Linked DNA regions of Homo sapiens: all the other regions are linked to region 2. The links are contacts of gene promoters, found by promoter capture Hi-C in blood cells and fetal thymus (Javierre and others, 2016). All regions are on one chromosome and are shown on one strand. The core of a region is centred on a gene start or on the middle of the fragment in contact, and the rest is flanking DNA. Distances in the headings are between cores, read along the strand shown.

Region 1 (3,610 bases), core at 630-3,129, 160 kb before region 2:
GCTTCTGTTTTTCTCTCTCTCCATTTAGCCTCAGGGTCATTCTGTAGTGAGTCCATGTGGGGAGTTCAGAGCAAGTATTCTGGCGAACAAGCTGGAAGCCATGCTGCCTTCTGTGATCTAGCCTCCGAAGTTATACAGCATCTCTCCCATCCCCGTAACTTGTTGGTTCCAAGTGAGTCACAAGCCTGCCTAGAGTCAAGGGCGAGGGAGGACAGAGACTGAATTTCTTGCTGGGTAAGGCACAAAGTTATGGAACAAGTATGTGGAGTGGGAGGTATTGTCGTGGCCATCTTAGGGGTATGAACTCTGCCATGGATGCAGACTGGCCTTTTCTAAGAGTCATCAGTTTGGTTATCTGCAAACATGACTGAAGAGTGTGGGGTACATCAATGCCAGGCAAAGTTTCTGAAGGAGTCTGGCTCAGAGGGGGAGGCCTGGAATACGATCCTAGTTTACCAAGGGGAACCTGGTCAGTTACCTTGCAACTTTGGAGAAAGAGTGAATGGAAGTGTCCCTCAGTAGGGGACATTTAGGAAGGGGATGGTCACAGAGCCAGGGCTGGCATTGTCCAGGGCACAGGTTCTTGGTTGCGCTGGCTCAAGCATCATCCCCATTCCCCGGGTAAGACTGTCCTCCCAAAACAGAGGTGGCTTCAAGCTGCTCTGTGATAAACACTTTTTTTTTTTTTTTTTTTTGAGATGGAGTCTGGCTGTGTCACCCAGGCTGGAGTGCAGTGGTGCAATCTTGGCTCACTGCAACCTCTGCCTCCCAGGTTCAAGTGATTCTTATGCCTCAGCCTCCCTAGTAGCTGGGATTACAGGTGCCTGCCACCATGCCTGGCTAATTTTTGTATTTTTAGTAGAGATGGGGTTTCACCACGTTGGTCAGGCTGGTCTCGAATTCCTGACCTCATGATCCGCCCGCCTCGGCCTCCCAAAGTGCTGGGATTACAGGCGTGAGCCACCGTGCCTGGCCGATAAATGCTTCTTAATGCTGTTGTTTATTCTGACTCCCTGCCACCAAGCAGTGCTGTGACACCGTGGATCCTCATGGAACTTGTGCTGTAGGGAAGCACGTGCTGGTTAGGCTGATGGAAGTGCTCCATTCTGCTGGTGGGGTATTTACTGTGCTCTCCAATAATAAATGGATCTTCTGCTATGCGTCAGCCTTGTAAGTTTGGTCAAAGGGAGTCTGCCACCGCCTTGTGTGCAGAAAGATCCCGGATATCCTGTGGTGGATTCACCTCATTGGGACCGGTCAGTGTGGCCAACCTCTCTTCCAGAGTGGCAACTTGCGTTTCCTTGCTTATCTTTTAAGAAGCACCATAGGAATCATCACCCCATTTTATAGACGAGAACACTGAGGCTCAGAGAGGAGGAATGTCTTGCCCCAGGTGAGCCAGCTGGTCAGGGTGCATTTGGAATGGAAACCCAGGTGTGGCTGAAACCAAAGCTGGCACTCTCCATGCACAATTCCAAAACCCACAAAGCTCTGAAAATCTAAAGCTTTTTCATGAGATTGGGGCAAGCATTTGATGGCAAACCTGATATGAATTGGATGTGAGGTTATTTATAGTCTTTATTTTGTCCCACTTAGCGTGAATATTTATACATTTTGCTGCAGAAAAATTAAAGGGTTTATGGAATATTGCTCCAGAGCTCACTGGCATGTCACCTGATATGCGGTAGATCCACTCGAAAACCTTTCAGGAATCCAAAGAATTCCAAGTTATAAAGCACATTGAGGCCGGATGTGGTGGCTTCAGACCTGTAATCCCAGCACTTTGGGAGCCCAAGGCGGGCAGCTCACCAGAAGTCAGTAGTTTGAGACCAGCCTGGGTGAAACCTCATCTCTACTAAAATACAAAAATTAGCCAGGCGTGGTGGTGGGTCCCTGTAATCCCAGCTACTGGGGGAGGCTGAGGCATGAGAATCGCTTGAACCCAGGAGGTGGAGGTTACAGTGAGCCAAAATCGGGCCACTGCACTCCAGCCTGGCCGACAGAGTGAAACTGTGTCTCAAAATAAATAAAATATAAAATAAAATACATAAATTGATAAAGCACATTGAGCCGCGAGGATTTCAGATAAGAAATTGTGGAGCTGTGCTACCTGTACCAAACTTTTCTGTCTCGGTTAGGCAGAGATCACTACCCCCATTCTGCAGATGAGGAAGACTGAGGGCAAGGAACATGGTGTCCCAGGTAGGACGGCAGCCATTTTATCATCCTGTTGGAGGCTGTGCCAGCAGGAAAGGAAGCTTTGGAGCCACCAGCCCACCCCAGCCTCCCAAGAACCTTGTTGTCTCAGCAAAATTTCAGAACTAGAAAACCTGGAAAGATTAAAGCCCCAAAGAATGCCACAAGTCCCCCAGGAAGAAAGGGAGGCTTTGCTGTGCGTTCCAGTGGTCGACATTCTAAATCATTTTTTATTTCAGCTGCATGTACACTCACCCATCACAGGACCAGTTCTCAGAATAGAGAGGTACCTGTTGAATCATCCACCCTACTTCCTGCCTCGTGTGGGCATGTCTCCAAGTGCTGAGCCATCCGCTTCGCTGCCGTGGCCTGAGATATATCAGGATTTGCAGGCCTGGCGACAGGAGACAAAATAGATTCCCATTTCCTTCAGAACCATTTAGCTAGTTTAGAGAGTGTTTGACTGTTTCAATGGGATGAGCAATAACCAGGCCTCTCCTTGGCTCCTTCTCTCTGCCCCATATGTTTTCTTCTGTTGGAAGCTGGGATTTGGGGTCTTAGGGCCAAAGATAAATACTGATTTTGGCTCGATCTGGCCGCACAGCTGTGGGCTAGTAGGTGCCCCTCTCTGAACCTCAGGCCCCCACTTTCTGCAGCACAGTGTTGTTCTCATCTCTGTTTTTTTTTTTTTTTTTTTTTTTTGAGATGGAGTCTCTCTCTGTTGCCTAGGCTGGAGTGCAGTGGTGCGATTTCAGCTCACCGCAACCTCCATCTCCTGGGTTCAAGCAATTCTCCCCACCTCAGCCTCCCGAGTAGCTGGGATTGCAGGTGCCTGCCACCAGGCCCAGCGGATTTTTGTGTTTTTTAGTAGAGACAGAGTTTCACCATGTTGGCCAGGCTGGTCTCGAACTCCTGACCTCAGGTGATCCGCCCTCCTCAGCCTCCCAAAATGCTGAGATGACAGGCATGAGCCACCGCATCCGGTCTCTCATCTCTTCATACCACATGCCTTGGTTCCCACTGCCCCGGCGGGTGCCTGGAGAGCCTTGTGGCTGGGGCTGAGTGACCGCAAGGTGATATTTAAGGTGGTCTCATGGAGCAGTCTGACATCACTGTAATGCAAGCAGACATCTGGGGAGTCAGACTGACTGAATTTGAATTCCAGCGATTTAAATTTTTACCACTGTTGTGTGACCTTGGGCAAGTTGTGTGACCATTTGAGCCATAGCTTCTTCATCTGTAAAATAGATGGAATCATAGCATGTACCACTTCGGGAGGGAGGGAGAATAGAATTAGGTCAGATTTTATATGTGACATGCTTAAGGCAGTGCCTGGCATGCAAATAAGCCCTTGATACATGCCAGTGGGGTTACTCTGGTTACCAGAAACTTGGAAGTAGGGGCTTTGGCTGGG
Region 2 (3,919 bases), core at 116-2,615:
ATAATCCGGAATGGGTCATAACTTCCTCGTTCTTTTTGCTGGTTTCATTCTCACTGACACTTTTGGTCTTGCAAACCCCTCTGGAGTAGAGCCAATAGTCGGTTCCCACAGCTATGGTCATCAGGCTGAAGGCAGCGAAAGCACCAACGGTGGTTAAAAGCATTTGAACACCTCGATCAAACAGCCCCATAATTCTTCATTATATAAACACCCAACCGACTTCTGGTTCTCGGGAGAGTGTGTGTGAGGGTGCAAGTACTAAAGCCAAAAAAAATAAATAAAAATAAAAATTATTCCACTACTAATATAATGGATATATGTATGAATAGAGAATATGGAGAGTTATAAAAAAAGGGAGGTAAGAAAGCTCACGGAAAAGAGTGTAAATTATAAAGATCACACGGGAAGAGGCTTGCCTTTTGAGATCAGAAACTGTTCCAGTTGCAGTGTTTTTTTTTTAAAAAGAAAAGGAAAAAAAAAATAAAAAGACACCCCCCACCCCCCCAAGTGAGATGCCTTAATCTCTTTTTCTAAAATTCTGGTCTCCAGTTTCCATATGTGATAGTTAATTTGGAGATGGCTTCCACAGTGAACCAGGGAACAGCCGAATTCTCAACACCATTTCTCATGGTCGGGACCTAGACAGTTAGAGACTGTGAGAGCCGAGATGCAACCTTCGGTCTTCGTTCTCGGCTCTGCGGCCTGCGCCATGAAAATCCTTTGCTTCGCCAGTTCTCTTCCTTGGGGGGTCTCGGCGCTTTCGTTTCAGACCAGACTTCCCAGTATTCTGTAAGCCCTTGAGCTCAGCTGCACAGGTGCGGGGGTCTCGCTTTCCATGGTTTTGCCCGGGCAGCGGCGGCGGCGGCGGCGGCGGCGGCAGGGCGGGCAGGCGCGGCGGCGGCGGCGGCAGCAGGACGAGCAGCGGCGGCGGTTATTGTTGTTGGTGGCGGGGGTAGTGTTGGCGAAGTGGGGGAGAGAGGGGGTTTCTCCTGGAGAATCGAGGCGGATTTCCCTCCCCCTATCTGCAAAGCTCCTGGAAACGAGGGAGCCGGCGTCTTGCTGCAGGGTGGGCCGCGCGCCTGCCCCCCACTCGCTACCGGCTGGGCGCCCGCGGAGGCGCTCCCACCTACTGCATTACGGGTGGTGCTGAACCGGACAGCTCCCTGCGCCGCCCGCTCCGCGCGCTCCCCGGCTGGCTCCCAGGGCCGCCCGCCAGGAGGGGGGCGCTGGCCAGAGTCCTCCCTCCCCGGGGCAGCAAGGCCAGCGCAGAGCGGGGGCCGCCTTTCCTCTTTTTACCCCTCTCCCAAATCCTAAAATGAGCGCTCTCCTGGGCTCCCGGAGCTTAGAGGAAGGCGTAGCTAGAGATAGCTCGCGCTCTCTCTCTCTCTCTCTCTCTCTCTCTCTCTCTCTCTCTTTCTCTCTCTCTCTCTCTCTCTCTCTCCCCCCTTCCCTCCCCCCTTGGTGTTTCTTCCAGCTCAGCCTCCTTCTCATTCCATCTCTACGTGCCCAGAGCTTCAAATACAACCCTCCCATCACAGTCAGACGGGCACAAAACTTCAACCAGCCGTTTCTCTGCCTGGAAGCGGCGAACATGTAACCTGGACGGGTAATTACAAACACGTCTTTATGTGTTTTTTAAATCATTGTTTTCACTTTGCTTTGCTGGGGATTTGTTTTATTTTGTTGGTCCGTTAGATGTATCTTCTTTCGGTTTTCCTCTCTCTTCTCTTTGTCTCTCTCTGGCTTACCAGGGGGTGTGCATTGCTCTGTGTCTCTCTGTAGTTTTCCGTGAAATTCCAAATCTTGCTTCTACAAGCAGACATTTTGGGAAGATTATTCGTGGAAAAGGGTGCAAAAGGGCGACTCGTAGCTGGGGCTTGGGCAATGATTTTCATTGCAAGGATAAACATGTTCTCAGGGGAAGTGGGTGAAATGTGAATCCTTCTAAGTATCCTATGTCATTCATAAACTGGTTGGGAAGAGATAAAAAATCTTCCTTCCATGAACACTGGAACACCGAAACCCTCCCCTCTTTCTCAGAAGAATCATTGTTTGTGGGTTAATTACAGTGTCACCTTTCATTTCTCTTATGTGCAACTTTTCCTTAACGTGACCTCTGGTAGAAAGAAGCACATTAATTCCTGCTGCTACGGATTACATTTTTTTCTCTGATCACTTTTATGGTTAAGTGAGTAAGAGCACATGAGGCATGAGATGGGTTCATGTTTTTGATATTTTGTGTGTGTGTGTGTTGCGGGGGGGACCCTGGAGAGGATGTGAGTATGATGAGTCTATTGAGGCAGGGGGAGTTGAGAGGTTTCAATCCCATAATTCAATTATTCAGTACTTTCTTCTCTCTCCCTCTACTTTTTTTCTTGAGATTATTTGCTTGACATCTTTCTCAGTGGTCTGGTGATTATCAGAGGTATATAAAAGATGAGTGAATTAAAAACAGTCTTTCTTTGGTGTAAAGTCCATTGCCTAACTTCCTTCGCTCAGGTCAGAGTTGGTCTGCAGGTATGACCAGTGTATTTTTTTTGACATAGAAAAACTACCTGTTTCTTCGCCCAGCACAAAACTTCCTTTCTCCCACTCTGTTCTTTTCTTAGAAGGGAAAGGCTCCCATGAGGGGCAATTGCTGTGCTTCTGGTATCTGGGAGAGGGTCCTGGTGTCTGGAGAACAGAACCAAGATTTCCTCAACCTCTGCTAAGGTACCTTTGGGGTACAGCAAGAGCTATATTTGCAGGCTGAAGACTTCTCCACTTTGGTTTCTTGTCCTGTGAAGATGGGGATGGGTACAGGAATGGAGAGGGCTAATCTGCTGATCCCATACAGCAGGGAACCTAGCAAGTTCAGCCAGTGGCTCAGGTGGCTGATTTTCTTCTGTCCTTGAAGCAAAGGTGAGGGGCAGGCAACAAGTCCTCCTCTGAGATAGGCTAAGCTTTTGGGGGGAGTGGAGAGAAGGTTGGGGGTAGTCACATGAGCCAAAGAGCCTTGCCCTCACTTATTGCTGTCACCTTGGTTGTCTTTGACCTGTCCAAAAATCCCTTTAGACTGCAGATAGAGCCATTCTTCTCATCTCTCTCCCCCTTTCAGACCAACCCCTGAAGGTTTTGCTCAAAAGAAATCAGTAACAGAGGCTCAGAAGCTTCTGTTTGTCCACAGAATCTGCTAACATCTTAGCCACTGACAACGGCTGCAGCTTTAGCAGCATTTGATTAATCTTCTGGCCAGATGATCATTGAGAAAAGGGAAAGGGGTGGGGGAGGAAAGCAACAGCTTTTAGGCTGCCAGCATGGACAGTGCAGAGACTACTGGAGACAGAATGGGCCTGGGGCACAGCTTGACTCTGCTACTCAGTAATGGCATAGCTCCAAACAAGTTAAGTTCCTAGAGCCTCAGTCTTACCATATGTTAAATGGGCAGTTTAGCACCTACCTGTTCCTTTCTGAAGTTCTTCCCAGCTACTGCCAAGCCACCTATCCTATTCAGACCTCCACCATCGCACGTATAGCTCATAATTGTGTATGTGTTGTCTCTTTCACTTATTTGAAACCTCTTTGAGGTCAACAGCTGTGTCTTGTTCACTGTTATATCTTTGGGACCTGGAGTATAGCTTTATATATAGTAGATACTTGATGAACAATGGCTGGAGTGATCACAGTAAGGATTAAATTGTAGACGTGAAGTGCCTGACACATAGTATGCACTCAATAAGTGTGGGTTTTCTCTCATTTCTCCTCCCCTCTTTTACATCCAAATTGGCCTCCTCCTCCTTCTCCTCCTCCTCCTCTCCTCCTCCTCCTCCTCCTTCTTCTTCTCCTTCTTCTTTTTCTTCCTCTTCTTCTTCTTCTTCTTCTTCTTCTTCTTCTTCTTTCTTCCTCTTCTTCCTCTTCTTCCTCATGGGGTCTCCTTGTA
Region 3 (3,823 bases), core at 939-3,438, 130 kb before region 2:
CCGGAGAAGAAAAGAATATGGTAATGAAAAGGGAGAAACAGAAGGTGAGGGCCAGGGCTCCTACAGTTGGGGGTGGATGGGGGAAAAGGGGGACAGGTGGCTAAGGGCAGAGGTCGGGGCTACATGTGTTTGTGGGGGGAGCAGCACCTGAATGAGGACCCAGAGGTGTTGGGGAGCCCTTCACAAAGTGTCTTTGCGAAGTAAAACATTTTTTTTTTAATCCAAATTCAAATAGGCAGTGAGTGACCTCAGGACCCAGCTCCGTGTCCTGGGAGCCATGGGCTAGGCAGGAGGCAGAGCTGGCTTGAGGCAGGGGTGAGGGAAAATATGTCTTCTTTATTATTATTATTTTTTGAGACGGAGTCTTCCCCTGTCACCCAGGCTGGAGTGCAGTGGTGCAATCTCGGCTCACTGCAACTTCTGCCTCCTGGGTTCAAGTGATTCTCCTGCCTCAGCCTCCCAAGTAGCTGGGACTACAGGCGTGTACCACCATGCTTGGCTAATTTTTGTACTTTTAGTAGAGATGGGGTTTCACTATGTTGGCCAGGCTGGTCTCAAACTCTTGACCTCATGATCTGCCCACCTTGGCCTCCCAAAGTGCTGGGATTACAGGCTTGAGCCACCGTGCCTGGCCAAAGATGTCTTCTTTAAATGGTGCTTAAGTGGTTTCTAAGGAAGTTGAGTCCTGATAATTACAGGACCCTTTGGCCAAGCCCAGGGATTGGTCAGGGAGGTTGGTTTTGGAGGGGAATGTGCCAGGAGCGGAGCTTCCTCTTATCCCCATCCCCGTCCCCACCCTTTTGGGTGGGAGTGTGTTCAAGAAGGATCTGTGAGAAGAGAATTTCTCTATATAGAACTGTAGGGATTTTTCTTTTTCTTTTTTAAAATTTATTTTTATTTTTATTTTTTGAGATGGAGTCTTGCTCTGTTGCCCAGGCTGGAGTGTAGTGGTGTGATCTCGGCTCACTGCAGCCTCCACCTCCCAGGTTCAAGCGATTCTCCTGCCTCAGCCTCCCAAGTAGGTGGGACTACAGGTGTGCGCCATCACACCTGGCTAGTTTTTGTATTTTTAGTAGAGACGGGGTTTCGCTATGTTGGCCAGGCTGGTCTTGAACTCCTGACCTCAAGTGATCTGCCCGCCTCGGCCTCCCAAAGTGCTGGGATTACAGGCGTTAAAAGGGGATTTTAGGCAGTTTGCTGAGATGTGTGTGATGTGAAAACTCTTCTTCTGTCCTCACCATGGATCTGCAGCATAGTCTACACTGCTCACAAATGGGTGAGTGGGTTATTTGGGGGGGACCTGAAGAAGGGCAGGGCTCTTGGGGCAAAACTGAGCTGCATATAGGGAAGCAGGGGTGGGAGGATGGGGGCTTGGGGTGGCTGGGCTACTCTGCAGCCTCAGCACCCTCCTTCTCTTGGGCGGGATGGGGCTGCTCCTCCACAGACCCCAGGGAGGTGTTCTCTCCTTGCAAATCATTGCTAAGACAACACGCTGTATCCCTAACCTGATCCCCCAGCCCAAACACACCCACATCCACACCCACGCGTGACAGACATGCATGACTAAAAAGCCACCTTAACTCTCATCTTTATAAGCACATGAGGATGGTGAGAGCTTACTGAAAACCCAGGAGAAGAGAGAGAATATTTGTTAAACACCCATTCGGTGTTGGGTCTTGAGCAGGTACCTAACATATATGATATAATTTCATCCTCATAACAGTCCGGCAGGGTGTGTTTTTTTGCCCCAATTTACAGACAAGAAAATTGAGGTTCAGAGAGAGAAACTCCCCTGCCACCCAGCTAGTGAACCAGGATTCATATCCAGACCAGCTCAACTTTTGGAGCACCCTGTAGTCTCCCTATGTGGCTTCCAAGGAGCCCAGGAAGGGTGAGTGCCACAGGGCCTGGAGAACTGGGTTTGGGTCCCACCTGTGCCACTCACTTGCTGTGTGGCTAAGGCGGGTGCTCACTTCCTCTGTTTTTCCCCTGTGTAACATGGGGTATGGCCTGTTAGATGGTTTCTTTTTGTTTGTTTGTTTTAGATACAGAGTCTTGCTCTATACCCCAGGCTGGAGTGCAGTGGCGTGATCTTGACTCACTGCAACCTCCGTCTTCGGGGTTCAAGCAATTCTCCTGCCTCAGCCTCCCAAGTAGCTGGGATTATAGGCGCCCGCCACCATGTCCGGCTAATTTTTGTATTTTTAGTAGAGATGGGTTTTCGCCATGTTGGCCAGGCTGGTCTCAAACTCATGACCTCAGGTGATCCACCGGCCTCGGCCTTCCAAAGTGCTGGGATTACAGGCCTGAGCCACCGCGCCCGGCCGTTAGATAGTTTCTAATAGCTCTGCCCTTTCCATGTGGACATGGTCCTGGCCAGCCACAAAGGGGAATGACAGAAGAGAGAAGGAAAGAAAGAAAGAGGTCGGTGTGGCTTCCGAGGCGCAGCAGCAGCAGCTCAGAGGAACAGGCAGAAGAAAGGCTCTGGCCTTCCCCCTCCAAGAAAGTGGGGTCTTACTACCCACAGGATGCCTGCAGGTCGCCGACCCAATTGTGCCCTCACAGCAAATGGACTCACAGCAGCCCAGGGCTTGATTTTTCCAGTTGAGCCCCATCTGCTGTGGGAACCCGGATGCCCCAGCTCAGCCCTCCTGCCAGCAGGGGGAGGGAGCGTCGGCTGCGGAGGGAGCTGGGATGCATGCGTGTGGGCAGCCAGAGGCCAGGCATGTGTGGACAAGATGGAGGGCGGCGGGAGAGCAGGGAGGGGTCTGCTGTGTTGCAGCCAGCAAAGAGCAATGTGGAGGAATCAGAACGGCTTCAGAAGCCACCAAGGCAGCGTATGACATGCTCTAAATAATGACCACCAGCGGGGAATACAAACAGAAGCCTCTTCGGCACAGAAGAGCCAGCCCCAAGCTCTGGCCTTTCGTGGAAGAGGCCTCTTTGCCCAGAAAGAAGGCAACAGGCCGGGCGCGGTGGCTCACGCCTGTAATCCCAGCACTTTGGGAGGCAGAGGTGGGTGGATCACCTGAGGTCAGGAGTTCGAGACCAGCCTGGCTAACATGGTGAAACCCCGTCTCTACTGAAAAAAACACAAAAATTAGCCGGGCATGGTGGTGCGTGTCAGTAGTCTCAGCTACTGGGGGTGCTGAGGCAGGAAGATAGCTTCAACTTGGGAGGCGGAGGTTGCAGTGAGCTGAGATCGCGCCACTGCACCCCAGCCTGGGCAACAGAGCAAGACTCCATCTCAAAAAAAAAAAAAAAAAAAAAGGCAACAGTGGGCAACCAGCAAATAGCACCATGCTTAGGCCACTAGACTTGGCAGGGCCCAGATCCAGGTGGGAAGGAAGCTGGTTTAGGAGCAAGCAGGGACTTCTACATTGGAGACGTTTCTTGAAGGAGGTATTTCTGGCTGGGTAGTGTCACAAACGGAATGGGGATTTTGGAGTTAGTCACACTTGACTTTGAATCCTCGCTTTGTCAGTTATCAACAGTGTGACCCTTGGGCAAGGGTCATTACTGCTCTGAGCCTCAGTTTCCCCATCCTGTGAAATGGGAATAGTAAAAATAATATTTAGCTTATAGGAATGTTGTAAGGCCTTGCTGCTGCAAGTGTGGCCTGAGGCCCAGCGGCATTGGCATCTGATTAGAAAGGCAGCCCTGCCAGGCATGGTGGCTCATGCCTGTAATCCCAGCACTTTGGGATGCTGAGGTGAGCGGATCACATGAAGTCAGGAGTTCGAGACCAACCTGGCCAGCATGGCGAAACCTTGCTTCTACTAAAAATACAAAAATTAGCCGGGCGTGACGGTAAGTGCCTGTA

Evidence for each region. The method cuts DNA at HindIII sites, captures the fragments that hold promoters and counts their contacts. A CHiCAGO score of 5 or more calls a contact.
Region 1: a fragment that was not itself captured here is called in contact with the fragment with the promoter of CACNG2 in region 2 in 1 of 17 cell types (M1 macrophages); the score reaches 5.6 in M1 macrophages.
Region 3: a contact is called between a fragment that was not itself captured here and the fragment with the promoter of CACNG2 in region 2, in 2 of 17 cell types (M1 macrophages and M2 macrophages). The highest score is 5.8, in M1 macrophages.

The regions. Positions count from the first base shown.
Region 1 is chr22:36,539,721-36,543,330 of GRCh38, forward strand. No RefSeq gene overlaps it. Among named protein-coding and RNA genes, the nearest start is that of EIF3D, 12 kb to the left of the region's middle. The HindIII fragment of the contact is 753 bases long and covers 1,504-2,256 here.
Region 2 is chr22:36,702,387-36,706,305 of GRCh38, forward strand. It overlaps CACNG2 (calcium voltage-gated channel auxiliary subunit gamma 2), which reads right to left and starts at 1,366. Exons shown (of 4, transcript NM_006078.5): 1 at 1-1,366. The coding sequence starts at 190. It overlaps CACNG2-DT (CACNG2 divergent transcript), which reads left to right and starts at 1,490. Exons shown (of 4, transcript NR_134623.1): 1 at 1,490-1,606. The HindIII fragment of the contact is 12,752 bases long and covers 1-2,940 here.
Region 3 is chr22:36,567,514-36,571,336 of GRCh38, forward strand. The region is part of intron 2 of CACNG2 (calcium voltage-gated channel auxiliary subunit gamma 2); the gene reads right to left. Among named protein-coding and RNA genes, the nearest start is that of EIF3D, 40 kb to the left of the region's middle. RefSeq lists an enhancer at 2,839-3,430. The HindIII fragment of the contact is 9,308 bases long and covers 1-3,823 here.